2 separate regions of the Homo sapiens genome follow, and region 1 is linked to region 2. Evidence: promoter capture Hi-C in human tissues and cell types (Jung and others, 2019). All regions are on one chromosome and are shown on one strand. The core of a region is centred on a gene start or on the middle of the fragment in contact, and the rest is flanking DNA. Distances in the headings are between cores, read along the strand shown. Region 1 overlaps SLC7A14 (solute carrier family 7 member 14). Region 2 holds the start of CLDN11 (claudin 11).

The links. The method cuts DNA at HindIII sites, captures the fragments that hold promoters and counts their contacts. A contact is called where the count stands out against the background at its distance.
Region 1: a contact is called between a fragment that was not itself captured here and the fragment with the promoter of CLDN11 in region 2, in 1 of the 25 tissues and cell types used here (hippocampus).

What each region holds. Positions count from the first base shown.
Region 1 is chr3:170,460,327-170,463,026 of GRCh38, reverse strand. It overlaps SLC7A14 (solute carrier family 7 member 14), which reads left to right. Exons shown (of 8, transcript NM_020949.3): 8 at 1-2,700. Among named protein-coding and RNA genes, the nearest start is that of SLC7A14-AS1, 5.6 kb to the left of the region's middle. The HindIII fragment of the contact is 5,273 bases long and covers 1-2,700 here.
Region 2 is chr3:170,417,514-170,420,213 of GRCh38, reverse strand. CLDN11 (claudin 11) reads right to left here and starts at 1,346. Exons shown (of 3, transcript NM_005602.6): 1 at 922-1,346. The coding sequence starts at 1,147. RefSeq lists an enhancer at 646-1,598. The HindIII fragment of the contact is 16,199 bases long and covers 1-2,700 here.

The DNA.
Region 1 (2,700 bases), core at 160-2,659, 43 kb before region 2:
GACGGTGGCTTCCTTACCTATGCAAGGAACTAACAAGCCACATATACACTCCAAATTGATTTAACAAATTAAAGAGAAAAATAGCTGTACTTTGAGTCCTGTGTCTGCATTCATCATTAACCTAAGAAAATACAGCCATTTAATACGTGGACAAGCAACACAATTTAACAGCCACTTTAAAGTTTTCAACAATAGGTTTCAACAACTAAACCTAACAACTTTTTATATCTATCTAATCTAAACAGTAAAATCTCAGCTCCAGGTTTTACTGAGCTTGAGTGCTACTTTTTTTTTTTTAGACAGAGTCTCATTCTGTCACCCAGGCTGGAGTGCAGTGGCATGATCTTGGCTCACTGCAACCTTCACCTCCCGGGTTCAAGCTATTCTCCTGCCTCAGCCTCCCAAGCAGCTGGGATTATAGGCGTGTGCCAGTTCTACTTCTTAGTAACAAACTAGTAGCTAATCAAATGCCTACATAATGGTCATGATAAATCTGTTTAAATAAATGGCGGGCGGAAGGGAGTTGTTGAATTTAACAATCCATCCTTCTTCAGAATCTATAGGTCAGCCAGAATATAAATCTAGTAATTATTGAAAAACAAAACACAAACTCCTTCAAAGAAATCTCTCTCCTCTATTCTGCTGAAAAGGGTTGGTAAACCTGACATCCTTTCTTTTATTGGAAGACAAATCCAACATTTGTTAGACATCCAACATTTGTTGGAAGTCTACCTTACAAGAAACCACCTCTTATCTGCAACATAAACAGAAGCTACATCAGGTTGAAAATCCACATAGAAGACTGGAGAAAATTGCCGTCCCCTTTCGCACTAGGTTTTACCAGGGGCCCAAGATGTCAGAGGAAAGTCCGCGGAGGGCCAAACACAGGTTTACCTAATTATGAATCTCAGATTAGAATGTCTTATTGTGTGGAAAAGTCAGAACTCAGGAAATGTGTCTGAAGCCAGAGCGGGGGTCTGCTTACGGAGTCTACGCAGCGGGTAGGGGTCCACTATTGGAGTATAAACCTCAGGTCAGTGAGTAGTGCAGAGGTGTCCCTAACTTCCAATGGAGGGAAAGAGAGGAGAGCAAAGGAAACACATCCAGAAGTCGCCACGAGGGCTGTGTGCCAGCGCTCCATTTTCATGCTGTTTGGAACAAGACGTGTCAAGGAAGATGTTTCTATCCAAAGTCTTCATGGAGCCTCTGCTTCCCCTGTACCTGTGTAGCTCCCTGAAACTGAGGACCCACGTGTCTGCAAAGACCTCTGGAGATCCTAAGAGAGAGAGGCACCAGCAGGTAACCAGTGGTGGCCTGGCCACGAAAGAGTATTTGAAATTCAACAGTGAGCAAGTGCAGAAACAGCATCCCAAACCGCAGGCCCCACCACACGCAGGAACCAGAAAGCTGAAGTTTCACCAAGGAGTTTACTTAGTATTTCTCGCTGGGAATGGGGATGGGTAGCAAAAAGCCCCTTTCATGTACATAATGGTTGGTCCTATGTCCTACTTTTATTTTCTCTAAGAGTTTTAGAAGAAAGGCTGTTTTAATTTTTTTTTCTCCTTAAGAGCAACTTCCTTTTTAAAATGCTTTCCTCTTCTTGTCCTGCTTGAGTAATGCAGGCATCATTCTGAAATCATTCTGAAACAGCTAGGCAGTCGCCTTTTGCCAAAATTACTTCTCTAAGAAAATAGAGTGTTCTTTTTTTTAGGACTTAGAACCCACAAGGGGTGAGTGGAAGTTTTGTAGCCCATCAAAGGTGAATATGTGTTCTGCAGTATCAACTAAAACAGTGTACAAAATCATTAAACTGGGCCGGGCGCAGTGGCTCATGCCTGTAATCCCAGCACTTTGGGAGGCCGAGGCGGGTGGATCACCTGAGGCCAGGAGTTCAAGACCAGCCTGACCAACATGGAGAAACCCCATCTCTACTAAAAATACAAAATTAGCCAGGTGTGGTGTTGCATGCCTGTAATCCCAGCTATTAGGGAGGCTGAGGCAGGAGAATCGCTTGAACCCGGGAGGCAGAGGTTGCAGTGAGTCGAGATCACACCATTGCACTCCAGCCTGGGCAATAAGAGCAAAACTCCGTCTCAAAAATAATAATAATAATAATTTAACTGTGTTCTGCACACACAGAATTACAAAATCCCTATAGGACTTTCACAGATAGCTTTGGGCTTAAGGTCTTCGGACAACAGGTAGTTCTAATTTCTTACTCTTTGGGACATTTAGTACATGTTGGTACACATAAGGAAAGAAAATGGCTTATATTAGAGCTAGGAAACAGGGGCAGCCTGGATTTTTATGGTAGGAACTCACTCTGTGCTTTTTTTTTTTTCTGTTAAGTTTTCTTGACACTGACTTCGGTAACATTGGCTAAAGGGAATTGTGAGTCATGTGAATTTCACCTGCAGTGCAGACTTTAAAGGACTGTGTTCATTCTGATTTGGGGATGAAGAGAATGTTCCATGCACATCTATTGATTGGTCTTGGCAGTTGCTGATACGCTTGTCTCATTCACACTCCCAAAGGCGAGGATTTACCCTAGAAATCATAAACCCCCACTTTCCAAAGCAAAGATGCTGTTAATGTTATGATGGTGCATAAATACCTCAACTGTCTGGGCTGAGAGAGGGGGCTGCAGGTTTTTAAGAGAGCAGCTATAGTCCTCATTCCATGTAGTCACATCATCTGATG
Region 2 (2,700 bases), core at 97-2,596:
TTTAAATCTGAATTGAGGCTGTCGCCCAAAATGTTTCCACAGGACACATGTGAAAATGTGGCCCCTGGCCGGCGCTAGGCTGTCAATTTTTACCTCCCCTTCCCAATCTGAGACACGCTGGAGGGGTGGCGGCGAGCGACCCTCGGCGGCGCGCTCCGTATCTCCCCAGTGGAGTCCGCCCTCCGAGGAGCGCCCGCTCGTCCCTATCCAACCCAGCGGCGCGGAGCGGGAGCCGGCGTCACCGCAGCCCCGCAGTCTGACGCGCCCACAGCAGGGGCGGGGGTAGCGGGGGCAGCGGAGATGGCCCTGGGCACGTGCGGGAATCAACGTGACATTTCCCAAACCAGGCAGCCCAGAGAGCCCTGGACGTGAATTGCTCAGCGGCTGCGCGGACGGAGCTAGGAGGGCTCTAACCTGGCCGGGGGCGCTTCGCCCATCCCATGAGGACCGAGAAACTCAGCCTGAGCCGGTTCGATTCTCCTGTCAGCTTGTGTTACACGCTCCTTCTCACCTCTGCGGGCGGAACCTAACGCGAAGGCTCGGCGCCCCGGGGGAGGCCGGGCGGGAGCGGGAAGCACTTCGGGAAGCGGACGGTGGAAGGATGCGGGCTGGGACCGCAGTAATTAACACGGACTCAGTTCCTATTAGGTGTTCCGGTTTGTTCATTCTCAAAGGGACCCGGCCAGTGTTACCACCGGCCACATTGCCACTATTATCTCAAATTCCAGATAAGAATACTGCGGCCTAGAGAAGTTAAGTTCGGGGCTGCCTAATTCTTTTACAACAAGGTGGGACTAGGGATGTCAAAAACGTACCCAAAGGTCTTCAAGCCCCCAAAATGTCTCTGTGACGCCGTCTAATATCCCGCTCTCTACCCAGAGGATAAGGATTTGGGAGCCGCCGCCAAGCTCGGGTCCTTACCCGGCAGGATGAGGATGTCCACCAGGGGCTTGCAGTGGTACAGCCCCGTGGCCATGACGCAGTCGGCCCACAGCCCCTTGGAGCCCAGCTCATCCAGCTTGCGGCAGGTGGGGATGGTGTAGCCGCAGGTCACCACCCAGTCATTGGTGGAGGTGGTCACGATGACCCCGATCCAGCCCACGAAGCTCGTGACGAAGCCCACCACCTGCAGGCACGTGGCCACCATGGTGGCCGCCAGGATGTCCCCGTGCCTCGCCCCTCACGGCTGTGCCTGGGCCTGGGCTGGACAGTGCCTGCCCAGGTACGTCTCCCACGCTCGCGAGCCGCTGGAGGGCGACGGCCCGAGGCGGGACACTGGAGGTGGAGGTGGGCGCCGGAGGCTGCGAGCTCAGCGGCGAAGGGCGCACGGCGGGGACAGCAGCGCTGCTGGGCAGCGCGCCCCCGCCCCCTCTTTAAGCCCCGCGGCTCCGGCCGGCGAGCACCAATCGGCGGCAGCCCCGGGGCGCGCCGGCCAATCGCGGGGCGGGGCCGGGAGGGAAGCGTGAAGGGGAGCAGAGTAACCCCAGGGGGGCCATTGGGCCGCCCCACCCCGTCCGCAGCGCAGTCCGGCGATGCAAAGTAAAACAATTCCATCCAGGTCCAGAGAAACGGAGAGCGCAAAGAGGGCGTGCGTTTGTCGAGAGTTCTGTTTTCCTGCGACTGGTTTCTCTTCTTATAGCCCCTCTCTCATCTCAGTCTCTGGGTGTCCATTCCGCTCCGACCCTCCTCAGCTCCTCCCTGCTCGCTCCTTCTTCCCTGCTGCGAGCACTCCAAGGGCGCTCGGTACAGTCCCCCGACGACCCAGGATTGTGACAGACTGAAAAGTGCAGTAGGGACAAACGCGAGGCATTCAGTACACACAGTTACTAGAAGAAAGAAAACGATGCTTTTCAGTGGTTGAACATCATCAGCGGCAAACGTGGCCATAATAATCAACAATAGCAACTCACATTTATCGAGCTGTGTTATATATTATGCAGATGCATTTTACATGCATTAGCTCATTTAATCCTCATAACAGCCTTTGAGGTAGGAACAATTGTCAATGACACATACTAGGCCGGGAGTGGTGGCTCACACCTGTAATCCCAGAACTTTGGGAGGCCAAGGTGGGCGGATCACCTAAGGTCAGGAGTTCGAGACCAGCCTGACCAACATGGTGAAACTCCATCTCTACAGAAAATACAAAAATGAGCCGGGCATGGTGGCGCATGCCTGTAACCCCAGCTGCTTGGGAGGCTGAGGCAGGAGAATAACTTGAAGGAGGTTGCAGTGCGCCAAGATCGTGCCACTGCACTCCAGCCTGGGCAACTGAGTGAGACAACGTCTCAAAAGCAAACAACAACAACAACAACAAATTACACGCACTAGCCATAGAGAAACAGCACAAGAAGGTTGAGTTGCCCAAGTTCACGCAGCTAGGAAGGGGTAGATACCATGGGCCCATCTCATCCCTTTCACGAACTGTTTCTAGGAAACTGTCCTGATCAGTCTGAAAATTCCTAAGGGGTTCATGTGTCCCATTTTAGACGCATTAAAAGCTACAGCAGACTTCTCTGGCTCACTGTAAATAAATTAATATCTGTACCCCACTGAGAAAACTGCCTAGCCCAGAATGAGCGCTCTGATAGTGTAAAGCTATCATCATCACCATCAACATCATTAAGCCACCATGCATACAAATAGGCCGCATTATTTGCACCTTTTTATTCAGATAGGGAAGTCTTCCTTGAGCTGCAT